2 separate regions of the Homo sapiens genome follow, and region 2 is linked to region 1. The links are contacts of gene promoters, found by promoter capture Hi-C in blood cells and fetal thymus (Javierre and others, 2016). All regions are on one chromosome and are shown on one strand. Each heading gives the region's core, a stretch centred on a gene start or on the middle of the fragment in contact. The rest is flanking DNA. Distances are from core to core; before and after follow the strand shown. Region 1 holds the start of OXA1L (OXA1L mitochondrial inner membrane insertase). Region 2 has its middle 150 kb from the start of OR4E1.

Region 1 (2,748 bases), core at 108-2,607:
TTTTTTTTTTTTTTTTGAGATGGAGTCTGTCGCCCAGGCTAGAGTGAGGTGGCTCCACCTCGGCTCACTGCAACCTCCACCTCCCGGATTCAAGCGATTCTCCTGCCTCAGCCTCCCTAGTAGCTGGGACTACAGGTATGCACCACCACGCCCGCCTAGTTATTTTGTTTTTTTGTTTTTTGTATTTTTAGTAGAGACAGGATTTCACCATGTTGGCCAGGCTGGTCTCGATCTCTTGACCTAGTTATCGAGACCACCTCAGCCTCCCAAAGTGATGAGATTACAGGTATGAGCCACTGCACCCGGCCAAGACCTTTAATTAACTTACACAACAAAGTCTGGAGATAGGCAGTTCCAAGCATGGTACAGCAGCTCAATGATATCATCAAGTATTTGGGTGTTTTCTATCTTTGCCCTCAACCATCTTCAGCACGTGAGTTTTTCTTTCCTTTTTTTTTTTTTTTTTGAGACGGAGTCTCGCTCTTGTTGCCCAGGCTGGAGTGCAGTGGCACAATCCCGGCTCACTGCAACCTCTGCATCCCGGGTTCAAGTGATTCTCCTGCCTCAGCCTCCCGAGTAGCTGGGATTACAGGCGCCCACCACCACGCCCGGCTAATTTTTGTATTTTTAGTAGAAATGGGGTTTCACCATGTTGGCCAGGATGGTCTCGACCTCCTGATCTCGTGATCCACCCACCTCGGCCTCCCAAAGTACTGGGATTACAGACCTGAGCCACCGCGCCCGGCCTGCACGTGAGCTTTTCATCTGGAAACTTGTCCCCTCATGGTCAGTCCTCACACCACCCCACTTACAGAAGAAAAAAATGGAAAGGTGAAGTCTCCTCTGGAAGCTTCGTCTTTTTATCTGGGAGGAAAATATTTCCCAGAAGCTGCCTTCTTTTAATTTCTGTCAGACTCTAGACTACCCTCAAATTTCACTGGACCTGCGATTACAATATTACCTAGCAATAAGAATCAAAAGAATCGAACATCATTGAGTGGGAAAAATCCTCTGCAAGTACAGCCAAGCCTTTTCTGAGGCTATTTTTAAACTTACAAATCAGAGGACAATCGCGACATTAGAGGAAAATTACCCAGGTTTACGCCATCACTAACGATGATAGCTTACGATGATAGCTAACCCAGCTCTTCAACTTCCTTTCAATCTCCAGAAAAGGCTCTCTGCGTGCTAATGGTAACGTGGCTTTACAGATTTTTACCCACTTCAAATATGGCCGCCAAGCTCCGTTCTCTTTTACCGCCTGATCTGCGGCTACAATTCTGGCTTCATGCCCGCCTCCAAAAGTGCTTCCTCTCGAGGGGTTGTGGTTCTTACTGCGCAGGCGCAAAAGCAAGTCCTCTTCCGGGCAAAATGGCGATGGGACTAATGTGCGGACGCCGGGAGCTTCTGCGCTTGCTACAGTCCGGGCGTCGGGTAAGGATGCCCCGGGGCAGAGCACCGGGATGCTGCCCTGACCCAGTGAACCAGGCCCCAGGACAGCTCGTGCTAGGGGTATCAGCAGACGCTGACCTGCTCACCGGGACCTGAATGTCATGACCTCGGGTCATGTGAGGACGCGCTAGGGTTAGTCCCCGACACTATGGGCCCAGCAGCCCGGTGTCAGCTTCTGGAATTGGCTTGGCTCCTGGCGAGAGCACCTCGGCCTCGTTCTCAGGGCCCTCCGATGTGGGTCTGCGATAACTGAGATGCGGGGAACCCAGGTTCGAGCTTCGCTCTGCAGGCACCACCCGCTGCATGCCTTCGGGCTAGCGGTCTGCGCGCGGTGATAGCAATGTCCTCCCCTGTAGTGGCCGAGCTGCCTGCTTCTTGGGGAGTTAGCATAATGAATCCCGTTTGCACCCACGCGAGGACTTCTGCTCCCGGTAAAGGGGCTCCATCATCCTTTTACACGCTCAGGTCCACAGCGTCGCAGGGCCCTCGCAATGGCTTGGGAAACCGCTGACCACACGGCTCCTATTCCCAGCAGCCCCGTGCTGCTGTCGCCCACACTACCTCTTCCTTGCGGCTTCCGGCCCCCGCAGCCTCAGTACCTCTGCTATCTCTTTTGCAGAAGTCCAGGTAAGAGGCCTTTCGTTCCTGCAATATTAGGAGTGGTGTTTCCTGGTTGGTTTCATATTTTGTTTTGTTTGGGAGCAGGGGGAATATGGAGCAGAGTTCTTGTCCACGCTCCACACAGCTCTCCAAAATGATAGCATCTCTGCTTAGGATGGATTTTCAATTCAGTGGGGAAATGATTGAAAGTACAACAGGAGAGATGTTATATTTGGTTTTCTGAGCTGTTTTAAAGAAAAGCAATTGTTTCATGTTAATATATGGCAAAAATCATGATAGTGATATTCAAATGGCTGAAGTTTGGAAAACAGTGATAAAAGAAATAACTTCCCAGCATGAAGGGAAGTCATGGATTCTTACTCAAAGTAACTTCTCTTCCTAACTATTGATAAAAATGAGATGTCCTTTTTAAGCTTGAAATCTGCAGACACTAGGCTAACCTGGAAGAACAAGAAGTAGAGAGAACAGAACCCAGTACTGGTTATTATAAAAAGATCTCACTTGCTTTGTGTTCGCTACTGAATAAATATAATACAAGGCTTTCTTTCACACAGGTTCAGGCCCCTCCTGTTGTTGCTGCAACTCCCTCACCCACAGCAGTACCTGAGGTGGCTTCTGGAGAGACTGCAGATGTAGTCCAAACTGCTGCAGAGCAGAGCTTCGCTGAACTGGGGC
Region 2 (2,920 bases), core at 216-2,715, 940 kb before region 1:
GACCATTTTCTGTTTCACTTGGGATTCATTGTGGGGAGTAAGGAAGGGATGCAAATTAGACAGTATTAATACTGGATGATGGATCTCTTGAATCTCACTTTTCTTTCTGAATAGGGGGGAATGGCAAAAACCAAGTGGAGCAGAGTCCTCAGTCCCTGATCATCCTGGAGGGAAAGAACTGCACTCTTCAATGCAATTATACAGTGAGCCCCTTCAGCAACTTAAGGTGGTATAAGCAAGATACGGGGAGAGGTCCTGTTTCCCTGACAATCATGACTTTCAGTGAGAACACAAAGTCGAACGGAAGATATACAGCAACTCTGGATGCAGACACAAAGCAAAGCTCTCTGCACATCACAGCCTCCCAGCTCAGCGATTCAGCCTCCTACATCTGTGTGGTGAGCGCACTGTGCTCCACAGGCACTTGAAGCCAGTATGCAAACCTGCACCTGGAGGTTATCAAGGAGGCATAGGAGTTAGAGTAGACCGTTATTTTTTATGCAGAATATGATTTCACTAGTGAATATTTATCTCTCCGACATGATTTGATTTGAGCTTGAGCCTAAAGTTCTACTTAGGCTCAAGTAGAATACATGTCCTCAAGCGAGGATAAAGACATTCTCACTCAACACACAAAGTTAATTGCTACATCTGGGTGTTCCCAAGGGCAAGACAGTCTGTCATGCTGTGTTACTATTGCTGAAGTAGATGACAGTGTTGTTTGGAAGGGAGAGACTAGCTTGGTTTTTGATCTGGACACCTACCAGCAGAATGTCAACTAAGTGAAAGAGCAACAAGTTTATGTGGCTGATGGAAATTTTTTTTTTTTTTTTTTTTTTTTTTTGAGATGGAGTCTCACTCAGTCGCCCAGGCTGGAGTGCAGTGGCGTGATTTCGGCTCACTGCAAGCTCCACCTCCCGGGTTCATGCCATTCTCCTGCTTCAGCCTCCTGAGTAGCTGGGACTACAGGCGCCCACCACCACGCCCGGCTAATTTTTTTGTATTTTTAGTAGAGATGGGGTTTCACCGTGTTAGCCAGGATGGTCTCGATCTCCTGACCTCGTGATCCACCCATCTTGGCCTCCCAAAGTGCTGGGATTACAGGCGTGAGCCACTGCTCCTGGCCGGAAATATCTTGAGAAGTTTCCTTCCCCTGAAAGACATTCAGTTGTCATTTCATGGCTATTCAAGTTCTCAGAAAGCATCCTGTGAGAATAAATCTGCTCTTCCCATTTAGCTATGCTCCAGATCAAGGCTTTTGTCCAGGTGCTGCATCAACTCTTTATTATCTTCCATCACTGCTCCTTTAGAGGACACTGGAAGGCCAGGGGATCCTGGCAGACACAGTCACTCTCAGGCAGCAGAACAACTGTGCCAGGCTTTTCAACCATCAGTGTTCTAGAAAAGAGACTTAGGGACAGAATGCCTACCTGCAATTGTGAACTCTGGTTTTCACAACTTAGCTGTGAAGTTCTTTTTGGGACAATTAGAGAAATGTACATATAATTTGAGAATTAGATGAGAAAAGTACTTATTTAAAAGGCAGATATCAACTGTAAAAAAATGGGAAGAATATATACTAAGATATTAAAAATGGTAATCCTTGTATTGTGGGAATATAATGTTTTTACTTTTTATCTTTCCTTGTCTTCTGTACTTTTAATTTTCTATAGTTCTCGGATTTTTCTTCTGTCAAAATAAAGATTATTAAAAAATAACAAATGTCTTAAAAAATTTAAAGGAATGCATCTCATCTGTCACTATCAACTCACAGGAATTGATATTTAAAGATGATCACACATTTCAGGATATTGTTGAATAAGATTGATTTGTTATGCTTATGAGCACTGCAAGTAAGTTCATTTCCAAGTTCAGTGAATTGATAATTTGTGAATAAATGAAGCCAGGACCTGGACTGTTCTTTGTAACTAGTCTGGAGATAGCTCAAGTGTCAAGACATCAAAATGCCTTGACTTCTGGAGCAAAAAGTAAACCTAGATATATTCAGTAATCAGATATTTTTTCCTGTCCTGTATCTCCTTTCAAGTCTTTAGAGTGAAGAAATTAAAGTTCAGATTGCTGCTACAGCAGACTTGTGTGAGTAATCATAAACTAATTGAGGAAAAAGATAAAATACATGAAAATGGAATCAATAGGTAAAATTCCAAGTACGTGGACAAATAAGTTTTAAAGGTATTCTCAGGAGGAGATTACTGTGGGACAGAAAAGATAGGAGAAAGTATCATGGGGAATAGCAAATTTAGTTAGGTCTTGAAGGAGAGACACACATTGAATTTGTTCATTACACAATTATTTATTAAACAAATAATGAGGCCAGGTGCCGTGGCTCATGCTTGTAATCCCAGCACTTTGGGAGGCCAAGGTGGGCGAATCACTTGAAGTCAGGCATTCGAGACCAGCCTGGCCAACATGAAGAAACCCTGTCTCTACTAAAAATACAAAAATTAGCCAGGCATGGTGGCATGCACCTGTAATCCCAGCTACTAGGGAGGCTGAGGCAGGAGAATATCTTGAACCCAGGAGGCGGAGGTTGCAGTGAGCTGTGATTGCACATCTGCACTCCAGCCTGGGCGATGGAATGAGAGTCTGTCTCAAACAAAACAAAACGAAATAAAAAACAAATAATAAGTGACAGGTGTTTTTGTAGGTAGAAGGAGTAGGGTAATAAACAAAATAGATAAATGCAGACACAAAAGACCTTCCATTACGAGGCTTGAGTCTATGTTTGTCTATTGCGTTCACTTTCTTTTACAGGAATATCTTGGGAAGTTTGCATTCCAATATAGGCATTTCCTTGCTTGCTTTAGTTTAGTTTAGTTTGCAGGTTTCATATGGTGAGTAAAAGGCACAGGCATTGAAATGCTCTATCTATCACTTACTAAATTGCATTACTCTGGAC

Evidence for each region. The method cuts DNA at HindIII sites, captures the fragments that hold promoters and counts their contacts. A CHiCAGO score of 5 or more calls a contact.
Region 2: a fragment that was not itself captured here is called in contact with the fragment with the promoter of OXA1L in region 1 in 1 of 17 cell types (total CD8 T cells); the score reaches 5.2 in total CD8 T cells.

What each region holds. Positions count from the first base shown.
Region 1 is chr14:22,765,331-22,768,078 of GRCh38, forward strand. OXA1L (OXA1L mitochondrial inner membrane insertase) reads left to right here and starts at 1,358. Exons shown (of 10, transcript NM_005015.5): 1 at 1,358-1,434; 2 at 1,918-2,079; 3 at 2,628-2,748. The coding sequence starts at 1,372. OXA1L-DT (OXA1L divergent transcript) reads right to left here and starts at 1,232. Exons shown (of 3, transcript XR_001750638.3): 1 at 1,094-1,232. RefSeq lists enhancers at 1-516, 517-1,079, 1,080-1,643, 1,237-1,466. The HindIII fragment of the contact is 1,636 bases long and covers 849-2,484 here.
Region 2 is chr14:21,825,671-21,828,590 of GRCh38, forward strand. It overlaps TRA and TRAV10. Among named protein-coding and RNA genes, the nearest start is that of OR4E1, 150 kb to the left of the region's middle. The HindIII fragment of the contact is 3,707 bases long and covers 1-2,920 here.